Linked DNA regions of Homo sapiens: region 2 is linked to region 1. The links are contacts of gene promoters, found by promoter capture Hi-C in blood cells and fetal thymus (Javierre and others, 2016). All regions are on one chromosome and are shown on one strand. Each heading gives the region's core, a stretch centred on a gene start or on the middle of the fragment in contact. The rest is flanking DNA. Distances are from core to core; before and after follow the strand shown. Region 1 holds the start of SLC10A7 (solute carrier family 10 member 7). Region 2 holds the start of TTC29 (tetratricopeptide repeat domain 29).

The links. Contacts are between HindIII fragments. The CHiCAGO score rates a contact against its expected background, and 5 or more counts as called.
Region 2: a fragment that was not itself captured here is called in contact with the fragment with the promoter of SLC10A7 in region 1 in 1 of 17 cell types (fetal thymus); the score reaches 5.3 in fetal thymus.

Annotation. Positions count from the first base shown.
Region 1 is chr4:146,520,626-146,526,827 of GRCh38, forward strand. It overlaps SLC10A7 (solute carrier family 10 member 7), which reads right to left and starts at 1,315. Exons shown (of 12, transcript NM_001029998.6): 1 at 993-1,315. The coding sequence starts at 1,092. RefSeq lists enhancers at 443-672, 1,113-1,182, 1,403-1,482, 1,493-1,912, 2,083-2,162. The HindIII fragment of the contact is 7,940 bases long and covers 116-6,202 here.
Region 2 is chr4:146,942,400-146,948,444 of GRCh38, forward strand. TTC29 (tetratricopeptide repeat domain 29) reads right to left here and starts at 3,465. Exons shown (of 13, transcript NM_031956.4): 1 at 3,310-3,465; 2 at 2,632-2,678. TTC29-AS1 (TTC29 antisense RNA 1) reads left to right here. Exons shown (of 7, transcript NR_188447.1): 2 at 447-592; 3 at 3,032-3,155. RefSeq lists a silencer at 3,458-3,597. The HindIII fragment of the contact is 2,093 bases long and covers 1,090-3,182 here.

The sequences.
Region 1 (6,202 bases), core at 65-2,564:
GATAAAAATAACTTCAAATATCCTCCTGAGCGCTTCCTACTATGAAATATTGTGCCTGTTCACCTCTATCCTTATTTGCTCCGGTTGCATGAGTTAGGTATTAAACCTGTCAATAAGCTTGGAAACTGACAAACAAGGTCAAAAAGACAAGCGAATTGAATAAATTCAATTAATGTTTATGAAAAGTAGTACAAGATTGTCTAAAGGTGTTGGGGGGGGCATAAAAAACTAATATTTCTAATGTTCCCACCAGTGCCCATCATCTCCTGTACAAAGCTCCCACTATTCAGAGATCTAAGTATGCTTTCAGTCCATCCACATTTCCTTGCCAAAACACACACTACACTACACTACACATAGTCTAACAGTCTGTATCTGTTAGACTGCTAGTATAGCAACTGAATCCCGGCAGCACACGGAAGTATGCTGTAATGAAGTGTCCTGTAATCAAAGAGTGCAACGTGTCAGTCGGCTTGGGAGTTTCTGGAGCACCAGCAACTACAGCAAATCATCACTCTCCAACATGTGGGCCATAAAATCTGAGTTGGGGGCGGAGGTGTCCCTTTTCTTGTTTTTCCTCCACTTTTTTTTTTAATGTGGGGGCGGGGAGGACTCGAAAGTAGACTCGATAATGAGGTCCACTCCAAGATAGATACGGAACTCTTAGCAACCTAGATTCCCTTGGGATAGGATGCTACTTTGAAGGCAAGAGGAGTAAGTTTCATTCTCTGTAACCTCACTTCTTGACACTCAGGATAGTCATTGTTTGTCTACGGAAAAGGCTACCTGCCCTCAAATTCCTTTGCCTCGTTCCTAATTACAAGTTCCCTCTGGGGTTGGTAAATTAGAAAATCAGCAAAAGGGCCAAAGGCTGGTCAGTGCCCCCTGAAATTGGCAAGCGCTTGCAATGAGGGTTGCCCCACCTTTCCAAGACTCACAAATTAGTTCTGAAGTGGGAGCCGCGGTGGAGCCGGCAGAGGTGCAGCACTTACCCCCATTCACCCCTATGGACGGCTCCAGTTTAGCTCCAGCGATCGCCAGCACTATTCCGACCATGAACCAGTCTTTCCTCATTCTCTCCAGCAGCCTCATATTTGTTAGGGTGGGTGGGTTTTGTTTATTTGTTTGGCTTTTTTTCTTTTCAAGCTCCGATCACCTAATCCTTGGAGCGTCTCCACACTTTCCTTGGTCCCTCCAGACATGCAGCAGAGCAAGTCAAATTGCCGATTGTAAAGTAAAGACCTGGGGGTTGCTCCGGCGGCTTTGAGGAGGGTTGGGAGTAGTAGTAGCCAGTGACAGGAAAGTCTCACTGAGCGCCGCCATCACTACCACGCGCCTCAGAATACACGCGCACAAACGCCCCCAGCGCCTCTGGCCGCGGGCTCGCAGGTGCAGATGCTTTGAAATGAAGAACTCGGACCAGGCCGACAACGTGGGCGATCCGGCAAGGGAGGCTGGCCGCCGGATGGGGCTGACAAGCGCACCGCTGTCGAGACCTGCGGAACCTTCTGAATGACGAGGGGTCGGGGAGAGCGTCGTAAGGCGCCACAGCCAGCAAGCCTCACTGACTGTCCTTTTCTAACAAACCTTTAGGCACAGCCACCCACCCTTCTGGAGCATATCTCCATGGAGAGCCTCTCTTTTGCTGTGCCATGACTCCGCGGGCAGGGCTGACGTGTGCTTGGGGCAAGGGATTTCTCCGTTGAAGCTGCGGCAGCGGGGTGCAAGTTTGGAGACGCGCTTCTTCGGGACATTACGGCGCTTCCACGACGCTAGCGCTGACGTATGCGCGGGGGGGAGGGGAGGCCACTCTGGATCTCCGAGTTCCCAGCCTGAGCTGCCGGAGTTAGAGGTGTCCGCGCGGGAAAGTGGCTCGCTGGTGGGCGGGGAGCCTTATCTCTGGCGGTGGGTTGAAAATCCGGCGCCGGGCAGATGCCCACGTTCGCTGGACCCCTGCTTGCCGGCGTCCGCTACAACCCAAGGAAGGTGGGCCCGACCTCGCCAGGTCGCTCGCCTGCGGGTGGGCATTTGGTCCGGATCCCCTTCCCTCTGCGGCCCACACCTGTCTCCGGGACTGGGGAGGGCTGCAGGGATCGGGGCAGATCTGCCTTTGCGGGCCGAGAGTGACAGCTGAAGTCTCCCCACCAACTAAGCTACTCGCGGGCGGAGTGGGGTCTGCGCTGGCAAGCCCCTGGGCGCGCGGGTGCCCGCTCTGGCTCGCCCCCAGGGCTGACCTACCCAAGCCACAGGAAAACTCTGGGAAGAGGGTCGCGGATTCCAACGCGGAAGTGGTGGGGGATTGAGTCTGAGAGGTTGGGGAGTCCTACCTTCCATTGCCACGAGTGCTAGTTCTATCTGCCAGTTTCTTCCTTGAAATGTCTTGTGGCAACCAGTGACATTGATGGTTTCATGAATGGACTTCCTACCGGTAGACCCTGCAAGAGCATGAACTCCACTGTATCATTCATCCAAATGAAGAAAGAAAGAAAATAGTATGTGATATTTTGAAATAACCTGGCATCTGCCACTTAAATGGTTAAAAATAGAACTTAAGGTTTGGAAGAGATTGTTTCGTGATGACAGACTTTAATTCTGAATTTATTCAAAGCTGGAAAGACACTCGTCGTGTCATTTCCTCTATTTAATTTAGCTTTATCTTGATGGCAAGACTTCCAGAAACTAAGCCACTTTAAGAGTTGTGCTCCCAGTTGTAGGTTACACAGTACCAAGTGTCATCTAATTATACATCAGGCAACATGAAAAAAAATTAATTTCAAGATAAAAAGAACTTAACAGGGAGACATAGATGACATTAAGCAGTTTACTCTGAAAAGAGACAGGTACATGAAATATAAAATTTGATGTTAGTTGTCAGGCAGTCAGAAGATAAGTGAAGATAAATGAAAGATAGTTTACAACATAATTATTTTCTTATAGTAATTTCTTAGTAGGTTAAAGAGTCATACGTCTCAGTCATTGAAGGGATAGTTTTGTATTAAAACATCATTAAACATTAAGTTTACAGAAATTGAGCTGTTTTAACTGTACAGCTATTCACAAATTATTTACTAATACCTCTTTGATCTGTGTAGAGCAGAATCTAACTCAGAGATTTTTTTGTTCTGTTTTTAATGGTACTTAAAGGAAAAGAATATAATGTACCATGAATTATATTCTCTTAAGGCCTGTATTTGTTTGCTGTGGATGCTGAAACAAATACTCGAACTTGGATGCCTTCAAACAACAGAAATTTATTATCTCACAGTTCTGGAGGACAGAAGTCCAAAATCAAGATTTTGGCAGAGCCATACTCCCGCTGAAGGCTCTAGGGGAGAGTCCTTCCTTGCCTTTTCTAGTTTCTGGTGGTGCCTTCCTTGGCTTGTAGCTAGAGTGTTCCAATCTCTGCCACTGTTTTCACATCACATTCCCCTCTGTATTTCTTTCTAGTGGCCACATTATTCTAGTTTCTGCATCCATCTTCACGTTGCACCTCCTTTTCTGTGTATCTTTTATAAAGACACTTGTCATTGGATTTAGGGCCTACCCAGATAATCCAAAATGATCTCTCAAGAGCCTTAACTCAATCACAGTAGTCCCCCCTTATCCTGAAAGGATACATTCCAAGAACCTTAGGTAGATGCCTGAAACTGCTGGTTGTACTGAACCCTATCTATATATGCTATGGTATTTTTTCTTATACATACATTCCTATGATGATAATTTTTGGTTTATATTATTAGGCACAATAAGAGATGAACAATAATTAATACAGTCAGGCATTGCTTAACCACCGGGTTACATTCTGAGAAATGTATGGTTAGACGATTTCATCATTAGAGAAACATCATAGAGTGTACTTACACAAACCTAAATAATGTAGTGTACAACACACCTAGACTATATGGTATAGCCTATTGTTCCTAGGCTGCAAACCTATACAGCATGTTACTATACTGAATACTGTAGGCAGTTGCAACACAGTGGTATTTGTGTATCTAAACATATCTAAACATAGAAAAATTACAGTATAAGAGGTTTTTTTTTTTAATGGAGTCAGGAGTAGTGGTGTGTGCCTCTAGTCCCAGCTACTTCGAGAGGGTGAGACGGGAGACTCACTTGAATCCAGGAGTTTGAGGCCAGTCTGAGTAACATAACAAGATTCCATTCCTTTAAAAAAAAAATCGTGGTATACCTGTATAGAGCACTTACTATGAATGGAGCTTGTAGGACTGGAAGTTGTTCTGGGTGGGTCAGTGAGTGAGTGGTGTATGAATGGAGCTTGTAGGACTGGAAGTTGTTCTGGGTGGGTCAGTGAGTGAGTGGTGAATGAATGTTAAGGCCTAGGACATTACACTATTGTAGATTTTATAAATACTATACTTGGGCTACATTTAATTTAACAGTTTTTAAATTCAGTAATAACTTACTGTAACTTTTAACTTTATAAACTTTTTAATTTTTTTACTTTTTGACTCTTGTTATAGCACTTAGCTTAAAACACATCATACAGCTGTCCAAAATATTTTCTTTATATTCTTATTCTATAAGTTTTTTCTATTTACATTTTTGTTTTTACTTTCCTAAACTTTTTTTAAAAAAAAAACTAAGACACACACATATTGGCCTAGGCCTGCACATGGTCAGGATCATCAATATCACTGACTTCTACCTCCACATCTTGTCCCTGTAGAAGATCTTTAGGAGCAGTAACCTATGTAGAGCAGTCATCTTATATGATAACAATGCCTTCTTCCAGAATACCTCCTGAAGGACCTTCCTCAGTCTCTTTGGGAGATGTTGCTCTTTTCAGAAATATGCCTATGGTGTTTTGCCTGATTTATTTCTTTCATCATAGATTTGCATAAATAATGTGTCACATTATGACATTACAATAACTACATTTTCACTAGATAATAGGAATTTTTCAGCTTCATTATAGTCCTTTTTTTTTTTTTTTTTTTAAGAAAGCAGGTCTCACTCTGTCGCACAGGCCTGAGTGCAGTGGTGCGATCATAGCTTACTACAGCCTTGAGCTCCTGGGCTCAAGTGATCCCGCCTCAGCTTCCCGAGTAGCTGGGACCACAGGTACACACTGCCACACCCAGCAGCTTCATTATAGTCTTATGGGATCACTGTCTTGACCAGAACATCATATGTAGCACATGACTAATAAAATAGAACAATTAAGTTTAAAAAAATAGGGGGATTACTTGAACATAAGCAGTGTGATACCACAACAGTATCTGATAACCAAGATGGCTACTAAGTGACTAAGGACAGGTAGTGTCTACAGTGTGGATATGCTGGACAAAGGAAGGATTTATGTCCTGGACAGTGCAAGATTTTATCACACTACTCAGAACAGCTTACTGAGGAGAGAAGCCATTTCTCTTACTGTCTCCTCTCTCTGAAGAGGAGGAGGAAGTAAAAGTTGAAAAACAACAGGAATGAAGTCAGTGGCAAGACCAGCTGGTGCCACTGATGACCCGGCCTGAGGTTAAAAGATTAACCCCCGCCCCCACCCCCCACTCTAACCACATGTGCTCTCAATCCATCATGACCCTTTCACGTGGAACCCCTTAGAGTTGTAAGCCCTTAAAAGGGCCAGGAACTCTGTCTTTGGGGAGCTCGGCTCTTAAGACGCGAGTCTGCCGACGCTCCCGGCCGAATAAAAACCTCTTGCTTCTTTAATCCAGTGTCTGAGGAGTTTTGTCTGCAGCTTGTCCTGCTACATTTCTTGGTTCCCTGACTGGGAATCAAGGTGATTAACGGAAGGTCAAGGCAGCCCTTTAGGCTGCTTAGGGCTGCCCTGTGGAACATCCCTGCGGGGGATTCTGACCAGCTCCAGTGTTGCAGATCCTGAGAGCGCTCCCAGGGAGGCAATTGCCCTGGTGGAACACCTCGTCAGAGCAGTGCATGACAGGCCCTCATGGAGGATCAACGCAGTGGCTGAACACCGGGAAGGAACTGGCACTTTAAGTCTGGACATCTGAAACTTGGTAAGACTGGTCTCTGGAACTTGCCCACTCCATTTGAGTGGAAGCGTGGCCTGATCACCCATGGCGTGCCTGTACCAGCACTTTGGTTCTTGTTTTTGACTTGAGTTGAATTGCTTGATACTTTGGTTTTGGTTTTGACCTGGCATGGATTTCTGGATACTCCGATTTTGGTTTTGATTCTGGTCTGGTGTAAACTGAAGTGT
Region 2 (6,045 bases), core at 886-3,385, 420 kb after region 1:
GACAATTTTTTTAATTTAAAAAATCTATTTTTCTGATTAGATGTTATATTAAACAGTTGAGTTACTGGAATAACAAGAACTTACTAAATGGCAGCATCATACAGAGCATATGGTAAGAAGTTATAACTCATGTGAGGTTTGAAGGGACACCAAAGCTCCCCAAACGGGCCTCCCAAGAGCTTACTTCAGAGGAGCTGTGAAGACTTTTCCACAGAGTTCCAGAGTCTTCCAATGTTACAGTGAACATCGGAATCATCTAAGTTCTTAACCCACACCAGTGTAGCCCTAGTAAATTTAAAAAGGGAGAGAAGAAAACAACTAAGTTTGCCTCATTTGGGGCATTCCATCCTCTATAAATTTTAGACTCTTTTCTAAAAGCCCCACTTTACTTGCCAAAGCATTATGCAGTGGGCACTGGGGCCAGGGTAATCTCTTCATAATTGCAGGGGTCTTTGAAGAGTTCACCCAGGAGCTTCAAAATGAGGAACAGTGCTTGCAATTTCCTTGAATACTAAGAACATCCAGCTATTTGTAGACAGATAAAAGAGAGCAGCCCCCAGAGGTGCTGATCCAGCCAAGATAGCTCATCCAGGTGCGTATAACTCCCCACCAAAGTTGGCATACCAGCATGTTATATAAAATTTATCCTTTTTGATGTTTACTTGAGTTCGATGATTTTTGTTAGAAAATGTAAGCATGGAATAGAAACCAAATGCAAATGACATACATGGAGAGGGATATGTCTTCTTTGTCATACAGATCAACTGTGCTTTTTTTTTTTTTTTTTTTTTTTTTTTTCAAAATTCTGAGTCAACGTTTCCTACCATTAAAGTTTCAGCTGCCAGTTCCTTCATTTTGCTCTCCTCTGATCTGAGAACATTAGCAGCAGGAGCACCTTTACTCTTAAATTTAGTTTAATGTAAGTACTGCAAGCCCTGCTGGCAAGCCTCAAGGCACAAACTCTGAATGGGGGGTGGTCAGAGCTGAATGATAAAGTGGAAAAAAAGTTATCAGAGCTGAATGATAAAGTGGAAAAAAAAAAGCATGTTGGAAAAAATATCCCTCAATCAATCTATGTTGGACAGTTTAAGCTTAGAGTCAGGATGGAAGTTGAACAGGCTTTCTCTTTGTTTCTGAACCCCACATCCTACCTTACCTATGCCCATCGGGAAAGTGAATTTTGTTTCTCAGAATCAATACGTGGCCACATAAGGTATTTTGTTTTACACAACAGATAATGTGTGATCTGAATTTTATGACAGAGTTAATATTTTGAATGCAGCAAATATTTAAAGGGGTCCTGTAACAAATTAGTTTCTTATCTAAGTAATTGCCATCTTTTATGCCTTACAAGTTCAAGCAGGGTTTGCAGTACTTCCATTAAATTAAATACCTGTAAAGAAAGCCTTTTGGTCTTTGTTAATATGAGTTGCATCATTTTCCTGGTGTTGGTCAGACAGCATTCTCAGTTCCCATGTGAGCTCCAATTTAGACTCAACAATGAAGAATGGGACTAGTGCTATGAGGTGACTGACCCAGGCCTGTAGCATAAATGGAGCATATCACCACTAGTTATGGCACCTCCTTAGGGTTCTCCCAGATCAACATCTCAGGGGAAAACACACAAGATGGTGTGGCTGCAGGAAGGGAAATTGCTCAGGTTCAGGTGAGTAAGAAAGAAGAAGAATGAAAGATACCTCTTTGGCTGCTACCAAATGAGCTTAGCCCCAGGAGCTCAGGCTGAATCAGCCTGTTAGGAGGACCCACAGGAACCTCCGCCAGTGCTAGCAAGTGGGCAGTGCTACAGTGTGGCATCATCGGGTGCTGAGACAAAGATCAAAAGGCCGCCTGAAGCCATTCCACTGTTGGTATTCAGAAGAAATTTGGTGTACTCTTTGATCTGCTGGTTGGCTCTTGTATCACAGCTACAATCTCTAAGTTTGGCCCCCACATGCAAAGACAAATGAAAATGGAGAAATACAGGATGAAAGGTTTGAGAGTGCTAGGTCAGGCTGAATGTGTCCCATGGTGTGAGCTTAAATTTTTGGCCCCCAAGTAAAATTCTTCAAAGAGTAACTCTCCTGCCCTCTATCCCCAGAGATGCCTTTATCAGGAAACACAAAGGAGGGAGACCTACTACTATGTAAATGGAGGCTACTTGGAGAATGACTATGTCTGAGGCTGACCAGTGTCTGCAGGGTTCAGTCACTTTGGAGTAAAAACTGAGATTAGAGAAATAAAGCCAGTAAACCACAGTAAGCAAGTTTATTATACATCATCACGAGTTCAAAACAAGTAGGATTTTACTAAAAATCATTCATAAGAATTAAAACTTTTCATATTATCCAAGCTCTTTTACTATGAAAGTTTAATGAAAACTACAGAAGAAATATCACTAATTATGCTCCCTAAGTAAAAAAAAAAACATAATTAAGTTTATAAAGAGTCAGTAATAATGTTTATTCTCGGTATCATAATTTTTGGACACTTCTGGCACTCTCTCATGGGTAGATAGGTTGTTTAGTAAAATAAATAGAAAACACACATTTCCTACCAGCTGACATTGATGGCTAAATCACAAAATCAAGCAGGAAATGAGTTTGAAGGCAAGCCATATTTCACGTGACTTACATTTGCAGATTACTGCTGATGGTCTCTCCAGGCTTATAGACTTCAGCCTGAAAATCAGGAAGCAAAGAATAATAGCAAAGAAGAAAAATTTAAAATCATTCAGTAGTGTAACTCCTCTCCCCGCTCCAAGTCATGGAATAAGATTCACTCTTACAACAAATACTTCCTACCATCTAAGTTTAGATGAACTTTTAAAGAAAATCCCCAAGTATAGATCCTATGAGAGAAACTAATCACTAAATCAGTGAAATGCCAAAACATCTGAAATATGTATATGTATTGATGTATTTCAATACAAATGTGACATTAGGGATAACCATTTGTTCTCTCAAATTTACGAGATACAGTTATCTTTGCCAAAAACGGAGAGCATCTCAGTTCCCTTTCTGTTCCCACCTAGTTCTCAACAGGACTAAAGGACTTATCCTATGCCTAGTTTTTCACTCCCCTCAGAGGGTCAGGTGAACTGGGGAGCAAGAGGAACTGGCGCCTTTCCCTACTTCTCTTTCAATTCGTTTATTGAGGTAAGTGGCGAGGGCCTGGACTGAGGAAGCTTGAGAAAGACTGATGGAGGAAGGGCTGGCTGTAGGGGTCAGGGAAGGGGCTGCCTGAAGAACAGCCTGCCTCTCCAAGGAGCTGAGGAAGTCCGGTCCCAACCTCGCCCCTGCCGTCACGAACCTCGGTGCACTGGCCCAGGGAAACAACTCCAGTTTTCCGTTCCGCCGAAGTCAGTCCCCCACCGGCGGCAGGTGCTGGGCGTTGGCGCTGCCCCCTCCTCTCTCAGTGATTCCGAAGCCTGGCTCCGCCGGAGCGGAGACAGGGGACGCCGAGAGCGTCTCCACGGAAACAGAGAGGCGAGGCATGACGGCCGGGGGTGGAGTTAGGCTAAACCGGGCCTCGGGATTGGGGCAGCTCCCAGACTCTTCGGGCTTGGGGGCGGAGTCTGGCGAGGGGTGGAGCTTACTGACGGCCGGGCGGGGCCCCCAGATAGCTGAGGCTTTTCAAGCAGGGCTGCTTTCAGAAGTTAGCTCGCTTTTAGGCATTTTCACGTAACCCAAGAGGCTCGAATTTGCCACTTTCATTTCTTTCGTGGCCTTGCATTCTCAATGCTTTTTCTTCATTTCTCTTTTGTCCACAGGATTGATGGGAAAACGCTGAGCTAGGCATTCATGATCCCCGTGACCTGAAGCCAATTTATCCATCTAGCTAAGTCATTCATTCTCCTCTTCCTCAGCCTCTCTTGCAGTCAGAACCCACCACAAATGCCTTTTCCTGTCATGTCCCCACAGACAATTCAATTTTGAATTGTGGTTCGCTAAATACTCAAGGTCTCTTTCAGAGAATCTCCCTGCATCTGTCCTTATTTGTTTTGCATTTTTACCTGAAACTCAGGGTTTTATATTTACACTAAATAAATATCATCGTATTAATCTCGGCCCATCATTCCATCTCTTCTCTCAGACATGAGTGCAAGGAAGTGAAATTCCTTGCTCATTCCCTCATATATATATGGGGCAAGAGAGTGAGGCTTGCCACTTGTTACTTCTAAAATACAGAAGTGCTGGAAAGTTAGGCTATTGTTCCTTGTCTACTGACACACATTGTAGGAGAACGAGCCAGCGATATTGCTCACACGAATCATTCTATTAACCATAAATCGATTCTATTTAGAGTACAAGCATATCAACCATAACCACACTTTCATTCTAACATCTCATTTGCTGTAACAAATTACTAAATTATTTCCAAGTATGTTTACATTATACATTCAATGAGCACTGTGACTATCTGTAATTGGGCTCCACCCCATCCCCCACACCAGTAAGACTCTCATTCTATTCTCATGAGTTTATTTTCCAGTTTCAGCATCACCTTAACACACTCCACTGTGACCTGTGTGAATTCTTTTCCAGTCCTTGCTGCTTTTTCTGACTTAGAGTCTGTTTGTGAATTCCATGCACCTTCCTTTCTCACAGGAGGCTGTCTTAGTTGGCTTTCTAGGTAGTTCCTTCCTGCTTCTTTGGACTTACTTCTCCTACTTGCTGTTTTTTCACTAGAAGTTCTTTGACTAACTCTCTTTCTCCTTCTGTTTAGCATAGAATTCCTTCAGTTAGAGAACTTTGTTTGCAAGTGACAGAAAACACAAACGGGCTTAAGCAAAAAAGGAAACTGATGAAAACCAAAGGATGCCAGATTCAGCTGCAACTTTATCTAGAAACTCAGGCCTTTCTGAAAGTTTTGAGGATTCCAGAATACCTCTTCCTTTCACTACACAGAATTAATTTCTCCTCCTCTCGCCTCCTTTCTCTTAGACCTACCTTGATTTTATCAGTATAACTTTGCATGGTGTTTGGCTTATGGGAACCAAACTTGCCTGAAAGATTGTGAGTACCTTGAAAGCAGAGACTTTGTTTTATTGTTTTCTGAATTCCCTTGTACCGTATGCAAGGATTAGTATACAGTATGTGCTCAAAAATATTTTTTGAATTAACAGAATGACAGAATAGAGTGGTTTTTCAAACAGATTCTTCCTTGTGTAATTCTTCTCATTGCTTCCTCAATCTTCTCCACCTAGAATTCTAGGGGGAAGGTCAGGTGACACAACTGATAGTTTGAATGCTATTACTGACATAACAACCTCTAAAGTTTCCTCTTCCAGTCTTGCTCTGGAGAAATGATTTTAGGTTAGGTCAGCTCCCTAAAGAAGCAAGAGACAATTTTCTAATGGAAGCCAATCCATCTTAACTGCTCCCCATAATTGTTCTCAAAGTGTTTTTGATATCTCAATCATCAATTTCTACAGTAAAATTATTCTGAATCATTCTTGTTTTACTAAACACATCCCCAAGTAACATCTTAGGAAAGAACATATGAGATAAAATTTTAAGTTCTTTCATGTCTGACAATATCCTTATTTTGCCTACAATCATTTGGTAGGATTGCACATTCTAGATTAACAATCATTTCCCTCTGAATTTAGAAGGTATTATTTCACTGTTTTCTAGTATCCAGTGTTTGGGATGAGAAGTCTAGTGGCAATTTTATTGTCCTTCCTTTGTATGTGATGTAGTAGTAAGATCCATATGCAGTGACAACCACAAATTGACAACCACAAATCTGTGTGGCCTAAAACAACAAAATTTATTGATTGATTACCGTATGTCACCATCACAAGTCAGCCTTGGGTTTTGCTCCATGCTATGCCACAGCAGAATCAATATGAGAGAACCTTTGCCACCTGGAGGATGGCTGGTCTGTAGCAGAGAGATCATGAGAGTAAACTGCACATTAGCTTTAAAGGCTTCATCCAAAAGGGTATCCATCACTTTCACATTTCGTTGGCCACAACTGAAGTAGCCATGCTCAACTTTAAGAAAGCAGGTATGCACGATTTCACCTGTGCCTGAAAGACCA